Regions from separate parts of the Homo sapiens genome. Here regions 2 and 3 are each linked to region 1. Evidence: promoter capture Hi-C in 16 types of primary human blood cells and fetal thymus (Javierre and others, 2016). All regions are on one chromosome and are shown on one strand. Each heading gives the region's core, a stretch centred on a gene start or on the middle of the fragment in contact. The rest is flanking DNA. Distances are from core to core; before and after follow the strand shown. Region 1 holds the start of CAMK2N2 (calcium/calmodulin dependent protein kinase II inhibitor 2). Region 2 overlaps ABCC5 (ATP binding cassette subfamily C member 5). Region 3 overlaps ABCC5 (ATP binding cassette subfamily C member 5).

Region 1 (2,617 bases), core at 49-2,548:
GAAAGCGCGTTCGCCTGGAGTGTGGAATGAACGTACAGGGTGATCATTACCGTTTTCAGCGCTGCCGTCACTGTCGCCGCATGTGAGACACCCCCTCCTCCCCAAGGCCAGTGATTGCGCCAGAGCTCCTGCGCGCTGGCAAGCAGGTGACGCCGCGGGTGACGGCCAGCCAGGGCGGGGGTTGTGGGGGCGGGAGGCAAGGGGAGAAGAGGGCATGTTCCCATCGGTGAGGCGAGAACTCACCCGTGGTCCAAAGCAACGAGGGCGGGGGGCACCCTCCATCTCTACCGCACTCCCTCGGGGCACACACTGGCGCGCTCCGCGTCCTCAGGTGCTCCGAGCTTCCCCGCGTCACCCGCAGCCCAGGGCGCCCCCCGCGACGCCGCCATTCATTCCTCCTACACTGCGAGCGCACCACTCCAGAGCCGCGGGGGGCTACAGCCACCGGACTAGGGCTGGGGGTGTCTGCCCTGGTGCGCGCGCGTCGGCCCAGTTTCTATAGACCCCTCCTAGGAGAGACTGAAATACCCAGATTCAGGAGACGGAGACACTGGCACAGAGATACAGGAGTCAAGAATGGAGATAGATAGAGAAAGGCAGACACTTAAGGGACAGGCATAGACAAAGGCCATAACACAGCGAAAGAGATACGGGGCACAGAGACAGAGAGATACAGACACTTAGAGATGGACTGACACACACAAAGGCGGAGACAGAGACACAGACCGGCACTCAGAGGCGCACGGACCCTGACGATCTACTTAAGACCAGCAGAGCAACTAGTACAAGAGCGCGTCAGCGGCAAGGGCACCATCCCACTGGCCCGAGCTCTTCCCGCGCTGTGGGTTCGTGCCTTCCCCAGTCACCCTGTACCCGAGTCTCCTCCCCGCGCATTTCCCGCTCCCCGCTTTCCATTGCCAGCCCTGCGGCCGCCTTCCCGCCCCAACGCGCCCGGCCAGCTTTTGCCCTCCTGCTCCCAGTCCCCCTTGCACGCCTCTCCCAGCCTAGGGGTCAGACCCTCCTCCAAGCTCCTCCAGTACCAGGCTCGATCCCACCCCCCTTCGGTCCCGCCCCTCCCCGCGAGGTCCCGGCCGGGTTGGCTGGTACTATTCCCCAAGACCCACGTGCTGGCCATTCCCCGCCACAGTGCGGGAACCTCCCACTCCAGCTGCCTCTGTTCCCGGGGTAGCTGGGCGCGCTCCTGCCCCCGGCCCCGCCTCTTTCCCCTGGCCAGTGCCCGCCCCGCCTCCACCGCGCCCCGCCCGCCGTGCTCTGCCGCAGTCGGGCGCTCATCGTCATTCCGCTCTTGCCGCCGCCGCCGCCACCCCCGCCCCCCGCCCCCGCCCCCGCCCGGTCCCCGCCACCGCCGCCGCCGCCGCCTGCCCAGCGGCCCGGGAGGCGGAGGCGCGGGGGAGGAGGCCCCGCTTGGCTCCTCAGCCCCGGATGCTGCATGACTTCATCCTTCCGCCGGCTCCCCTGCTGAGGTAGGGCCGGTCCGGCAGCAAGCCCGCCGCCCGCGCCCCGCCGCAGTCCCGCTCCCGCCCCGCGCCCACCCCGCGCCCGCCATGTCCGAGATCCTGCCCTACAGCGAAGACAAGATGGGCCGCTTCGGCGCAGACCCCGAGGGCTCCGACCTCTCCTTCAGCTGCCGCCTGCAGGACACCAACTCCTTCTTCGCGGGCAACCAGGCCAAGCGACCCCCCAAGCTGGGCCAGATCGGCCGAGCCAAGCGAGGTACGCGGCCCGGGCCCGGAGTCGCCGCCTGACCCAGAAACCCTCCGCCGGGCGCCCCCCGGCTGCCGTTCCCCGCCGAGTGCCCGCAGCTCTTGCCGCAGACCAGCGCACCAGCCGCTCTCCAGCCCGGGCTGGAGGGGGGGGTCCCCGCTGCAGTGTGTGTCCCCCTCTTCCCTTCTCCCGGGAACACGGTGCCCCGGATTCGATGCTCGCCACCTCTGGAAGCAGAGCCCTGGCACCCGGGCGAGGGGGAGGGGCCGGTCGGGGCATTTGGGGCTGCACGGAAGTGGGAGCACGGGGTAACGGGCTGATTCTTTGGGATCAAATACTGAGTCGGTGGACAATACGAAGAACCTTCGGGTCGAGAGGGACGTCTAACAAGAGAGGGCAGGAGGCCGGGGGTCCGCTTGTCTTGGTTGTTTGCATGGGGAGGGGAGCTCTGTTGGTGCCAGGATCGGAAGAGGGGTTCCAGCGGCGAGAGGGCTCAGGTTGAGGAGAGGGCTGGACCAGCTGGATACTCGGTTTGAGCCCCATTTGAGCAGGGGGATCTGTTGAAGTGCGGGTTGAAGAGGGGGATTCCGTGAGCAAGAGGTTTCTGATCAACTCAGAGGGAGGAAGGCTCAGGTGGCAGGAGGGCTCGCACTGGGAGGGAGAATAGCTGGAGCCTTTGGAAGAGGGGCGTTCCGCCATCGGGAGGGGAGGGGGTCTAGGCTTGGCGGCGGGTTGGGTCTCCAGAAGAGTTCGGACGGGGAGGACACCGCGGCACAGGGTTCCGAGGGGCGTCGCTGGGCCACGGGCAGTAGCTGCGCGGGAAGCTAGGACGCGGGGCTCATTCTCATCGCCGCCGCCCCCCGAGGCCGCGCGGCTGACGCGCTTTCTCCCT
Region 2 (2,617 bases), core at 48-2,547, 300 kb after region 1:
AAGTCATAATTATGTATATTTGTGAGTGCAGTGAAAGGGTGTAAATTTAATGCAGGGCTCATGTGGCTCCATCAGCAGATTCATGTGAAAAACCGGAGGGACTCGGCCAGGCACAGTGGCTCACGCCTGTAATCCCTGCACTTTGGGAGGCTGAGGCTGGCGGATCACCTGAGGTCAGGAGTTCGAGACCAACTGGTGAAACCCCATCTCTACTAAAAATACAAAAATTATCCAGGCATGGTGGCACGTGCCTGCAATCCCAGCTACTCAGGAGGCCGAGGCAGGAGAATCCCTTGAACCCAGGAGGTGGAGGTTAAAGTGAGCTGCGATTGCATCATTGCACTCCGGCCTGGGCAACAAGAGCAAGACTCTGTCACAAAAAAAAAAAAAAAAGAAAAAAACTGGAGGAACTGCTCCTTATACTATGTCACGAGGCACAATACACTGAAGTGGGGTTCTCAGTGTTGGCACCACTGATGTTTTGGACCAGATAGTCCATTGTTGTGTGGGGCTGCTTTGTGCACCCCTGGCCTCTAGCCACTAGATACCAGTAGAGACAGTCGCTGGCTTACGGTTCAACTTACAGTTTTTTGACTTTATGATGGTTTCCACACAACCATTCTGTTTTTCACTTTCAGCATAGTATTGAAAAAAATTGCATGAGATATTAAACATTTTATTATAAAATAGGCTTTGTGTTAGATGATTTTGCCCAACTGTAGGCTAATGTAAGGGTTCTGAGCATGTTTAAGGTAGGCTAGGCTAAGCTCTGATATTTTCAATTTACGTTGGGTTTATCAGGATGTAAGCCCATTGTAAATTGAGGAGCATCTGTGTACCTCTCCCCCGAGTTGTGACAACCAAAAATGTCTCCAGCTGGGCGCGGTGGCTCAGGCCTGTAATCCCAGCACTTTGGGAGGCCGAGATGGGCGGATTACCTGTACGGCAAAACCCCGTCTCTACTAAAAATACAAAAAAATTAGCCAGACATGGTGCTGCATGCCTGTAGTCCCAGCTATTCGGGAGGCTGAGGCAGGAGAATCGCTTGAACCCAGGAGGCGGAGATTGCAGTGAACCGAGATTGCGCCACCACGCTCCAGCGTGAACGACAGAGCAAGACTCTGCCTCAAAAAAAAAAATGTCTCCAGATGCTGCCAAATGTCTTCTGGGAGCTTAACTCGTCTCCTGTAGAGAACTACTGAACTAATGTATGGGTTTTTGAATGTATTTGCACAAACAGCATATTGTGTTGTCTCTGCCTTTGCCTTCAGTACCTGGTTGACTGTGATGAAGTGATCTTCATGAAAGAGGGCTGTATTACGGAAAGAGGCACCCATGAGGAACTGATGAATTTAAATGGTGACTATGCTACCATTTTTAATAACCTGTTGCTGGGAGAGACACCGCCAGTTGAGGTAAGATCTGATGGTGTTTGCGTGTGTCCCCTTCTGTCTCTGCAAGGGAAACACAGCCGGAGTGAGTGATGGAGAGACCTCAGCTGAATCCAGTGTCTGTGTCTTATTGGCAGGGGCCCTGTTTTCTGGTGAACAGACTGCTGTGCCTTAGTTCACACACTGATTCTGCTCTAGGAGAGCAGGATTGTGGGGCTGGTGAGCTGAGGTCTTCTGTCACTGAGAACTTACTAATATGACAATGGCAGGGAGAAGGATATGGGCTCAGTGAGGGCAGAGAAGATGTGTGCTGCTGTTCATTCACAGCTTAGTTTCCTAAGCTCCATCCACCTGATTGAAGCATTATGAAGCTCTTTTTTAAATAAACAAGTGAATAAAGTGCCAAGGTAGGGAAATTAAATATTGCATACATTTGAAAGCACTCAGGTCAGGTGCTGCGGCTCTTGCTGGTAATCCCAGCATTTTTGGAGGCTGAGGTGGACAGATTGCTTGCGCCCAGGAATTCGACACCAGCTTGGGCAACATAGAGAGAAACCCCGTCTTTACAAAAAAATACAAAAATTAGCCAGGTGTGGTGGCAGGCGCCTGTAATCCCAGCTACTTGGGAGGGTGAGGCAGGAGAATCGCTTGAACCCAGGAGGCAGAGGTTGCAGTGAGCTAAGATTGCACCACTGCACTCCAACCTGGGTGACAGAGCGTGATTCCATCTCAAGAAAAAAAAAAGACATAAGAGAAACTTGGAAAGGAGAGCATTAAGTAGTTTCTGTTATCTCAGGTAGAACCCTGATGGCTGTTTATTGAGTCCCTGTGTGCCCTGTTATAGGCAGTTCTCAGGGGTAGGGCCTGTGCAGGTTGTAACCATGTGAGAGACATCATCTCTGTCCTTAAGGGACTCACAGTGTTCTAGGGAAGACCGATGCTTTTATGCTCTTACAAGCACTTACAAATGTGGCTTACAAGACCACATCACATGTATAGTACTAATGGAGTTCTAAGGGCGAATGGGAGGGTGAGCTTTCCAGGGAGTGTATGTTGCCTCATGAAGAATGGAAGACTTGAATCTATCTGAATGGGGACAACTGTGACTGCGATTGGGACAAGGGGAGGGGCATTCCAAGTGGAGGAACGAGTGTGGACCAAAGTAGAGAAATGGGAAATTGCAGTGTGGTGTAAGGAATGGTGTGAAGTCCAGTGTGGCTTGAGAG
Region 3 (2,617 bases), core at 47-2,546, 280 kb after region 1:
AGCTACTTGGGAGGCTAAGATGGGAGGATCACTTGAGCCATGGAGGTTGAGGCTGCGGTGAGCCGTGATTGTGCCACTGCACTCCAGCCTGAGCAACAGAGCGAGACCTCGTCTGAAAAAAAAGTATCTTATTGTTCTGCTTCCTGCTCCACGGTCTTCAGTACACTATGGTTGCTTTGCTAATATGGGGGTTGATTTTGCAAATATTTAAGAAAAATCATTCTGCCTATAGAAATTGTATTTCACCTATCTTCTTCCGGTTGTCATTACTGCATTTTTATATGGAAGCTTCTATCCCACTGCCAACATACAGCAGGCACTCTGGGAAATGTTAGTTCCCTCCCCACTGCCCCTTTTTTTTTTTTTTTTGAGATAAGGCCTGGCTTTGTCACCCAGTCTGGAATACAGCGGTGCAATCTCGGTGCACTGCAACTTCCACCTCCCAGGTTCAGGCAATTCTCCGGCCTCAGCCTCCCAAGTAGCTGGGATCATAGGCGTGTACTACCACACCCGGCTAATTTTTGTATTTTTAGCAGGGACGGGGTTTTGCCGTGTTGGCCAGGCTGGTCTCGAACACCTGACCTCAGGTGATTCCCCCTGCTTTGGGCCTCCCAAAGTACTGGGATTATAGGCATGAGCCACCGCACCTGGCCTCTTAGTCCCTCCCTTTTTAATTCTCCAGTGCCATTGTGTTGTCTTTCCTATTAATTCCTTAGGCAAAAAGTCAACAACAACCAGGTAAGCAAACACAACTGCCAATTATAGATACAATTAATGTGTTCATTCCTTCTCAACCTAAGAAATTTACAAGAAGAATCAGAAAAAGGTATCATAGAAGATGATGATTGAGTTCATACATAGTGACTGCTTTCTGTTAGATTCATTCCTGTCACTTGATCCATTTCAAACCTCAGCCTTTTATACCAGCTTTAGTGGTAGAGTTGATAGTCATAGGTGTTGAAGGGTGGCTGGAGACCTACAGAGTCTTGTTTGGAGGTGGAGGAACAACATCCCTAGGCTTCTTTTAACTTGCTTTGAAATTGGCTTGCTTTTTATTCATAGAAATCCGCGAGGAGGAGCGTCGGATATTGGAAAAAGCTGGGTACTTCCAGAGCATCACTGTGGGTGTGGCTCCCATTGTGGTGGTGATTGCCAGCGTGGTGACCTTCTCTGTTCATATGACCCTGGGCTTCGATCTGACAGCAGCACAGGTCAGGGAACCCTCAGGGATGGGGAACATTTTAGAAATACCACATTTGCTGGAGGCTGAGGCAGGAAAATCACTTGAACCCAGGTGGTGGAGGTTACAGTGAGCCAAGATCATGCCATTGCACTCCAGCCTGGGGGACAGAGCAAGACTCCATCTCAAAACAAAACAAACAAACAAACAAAAAAAAAATACCACATATGGAGATGATGCTGTGGTCCTCTCCTTACTGGACCTGGAGGTTCCCCCAAGAATTAGTAGGTATTTTTTCATTCATGGGATTAAGCTGAGAAGCAGAAGAGTGGGGAGCCAGCCCTTATGCACAAATAGTGTATGAGTTGTTTTTAGTCAACATAAGTTTGAGTTTAATTCTGAAATTACAGATCATCCTGTGGTTCATATTTACTGACAATTTTAATTGAAGGTCTCAAAAACTCTACTTAAAAAAAAATGTGGCCAGGCATGGTGGCTCACGCCTGTAATCCCAGCACTTTGGGAGGCCGAGGCGGGCGGATCACTTGAGGTCAGAAGTTTGAGACCAGCCTGGCCAACATGGTGAAACCCTGTCTCTACTAAAAATACAAAAATTAGCTGGGCATAGTGGTGCATGCCTGTAATCCCAGCTACTCGGGAGGCTGAGGCAGGAGAATTGCTTGAACCTGGGAGGTGGAAGTTGCAGTGAGCCAAGATCGTGTCACTGCACTCCAGCCTGGGCGACAGAGCGAGACTCCGTCTCAAAAAAAAAAAAATGTAATTGACTTGTAATAACAGCTGACCGTGAAGTTGCAGCCTTCCTAGCGCCTGAGAGGAAATTCATGGTGTCAGGTTACTTCAGTTGCATAGCATCATTAGGCACAGTTTCTTCTCTTCTCCTATTTTCAGGCTTTCACAGTGGTGACAGTCTTCAATTCCATGACTTTTGCTTTGAAAGTAACACCGTTTTCAGTAAAGTCCCTCTCAGAAGCCTCAGTGGCTGTTGACAGATTTAAGGTAAGTGGCTCCTTCCCCTGCCCCCGTGTCAGGAGCCCTCCCCACACAACTAACTGCTGGCTCTGTTCAAGGGGCCACCCAGGCTGGCCTCACTGGGCTTAAGCTTGGCTTTGGCCTTTTGGCAAGTTGGTAAGAAAAAGGGGGCAGTGGAGGAGACTGAATTGAGGGATGAGACTTGTCACCTTTTTTAATTAATGTGAATTTTTACCTTTTGTGAACGGCCATGATCTGGGCTCCCAGGATTGCAGAGTTCCCCTTTAGAGCTAGCCCCTTCCACCTGGGCCTGACATGGATGTGTCGCAACTCACTGGGCCTTGAAGTGGCTTAAACCTAGAAGACCAGCACTGTGGGGCATCTTCCCCTTGATCTTTGCTACTGTCACTTTGATTGATTGACATGCTGAATCCTTTTTGATACTTT

What was found. The method cuts DNA at HindIII sites, captures the fragments that hold promoters and counts their contacts. A CHiCAGO score of 5 or more calls a contact.
Region 2: a fragment that was not itself captured here is called in contact with the fragment with the promoter of CAMK2N2 in region 1 in 1 of 17 cell types (M1 macrophages); the score reaches 5.3 in M1 macrophages.
Region 3: a fragment that was not itself captured here is called in contact with the fragment with the promoter of CAMK2N2 in region 1 in 1 of 17 cell types (M1 macrophages); the score reaches 5.1 in M1 macrophages.

The regions. Positions count from the first base shown.
Region 1 is chr3:184,260,234-184,262,850 of GRCh38, reverse strand. CAMK2N2 (calcium/calmodulin dependent protein kinase II inhibitor 2) reads left to right here and starts at 1,298. Exons shown (of 2, transcript NM_033259.3): 1 at 1,298-1,734. The coding sequence starts at 1,566. All of the region lies in intron 2 of EEF1AKMT4-ECE2 (EEF1AKMT4-ECE2 readthrough), which reads right to left. RefSeq lists enhancers at 1-206, 2,092-2,617. The HindIII fragment of the contact is 12,942 bases long and covers 1-2,617 here.
Region 2 is chr3:183,960,309-183,962,925 of GRCh38, reverse strand. ABCC5 (ATP binding cassette subfamily C member 5) reads left to right here. Exons shown (of 30, transcript NM_005688.4): 16 at 1,272-1,415. Among named protein-coding and RNA genes, the nearest start is that of ABCC5-AS1, 45 kb to the left of the region's middle. The HindIII fragment of the contact is 2,828 bases long and covers 1-2,617 here.
Region 3 is chr3:183,977,097-183,979,713 of GRCh38, reverse strand. It overlaps ABCC5 (ATP binding cassette subfamily C member 5), which reads left to right. Exons shown (of 30, transcript NM_005688.4): 9 at 1,063-1,211; 10 at 2,090-2,197. Among named protein-coding and RNA genes, the nearest start is that of ABCC5-AS1, 28 kb to the left of the region's middle. The HindIII fragment of the contact is 2,012 bases long and covers 291-2,302 here.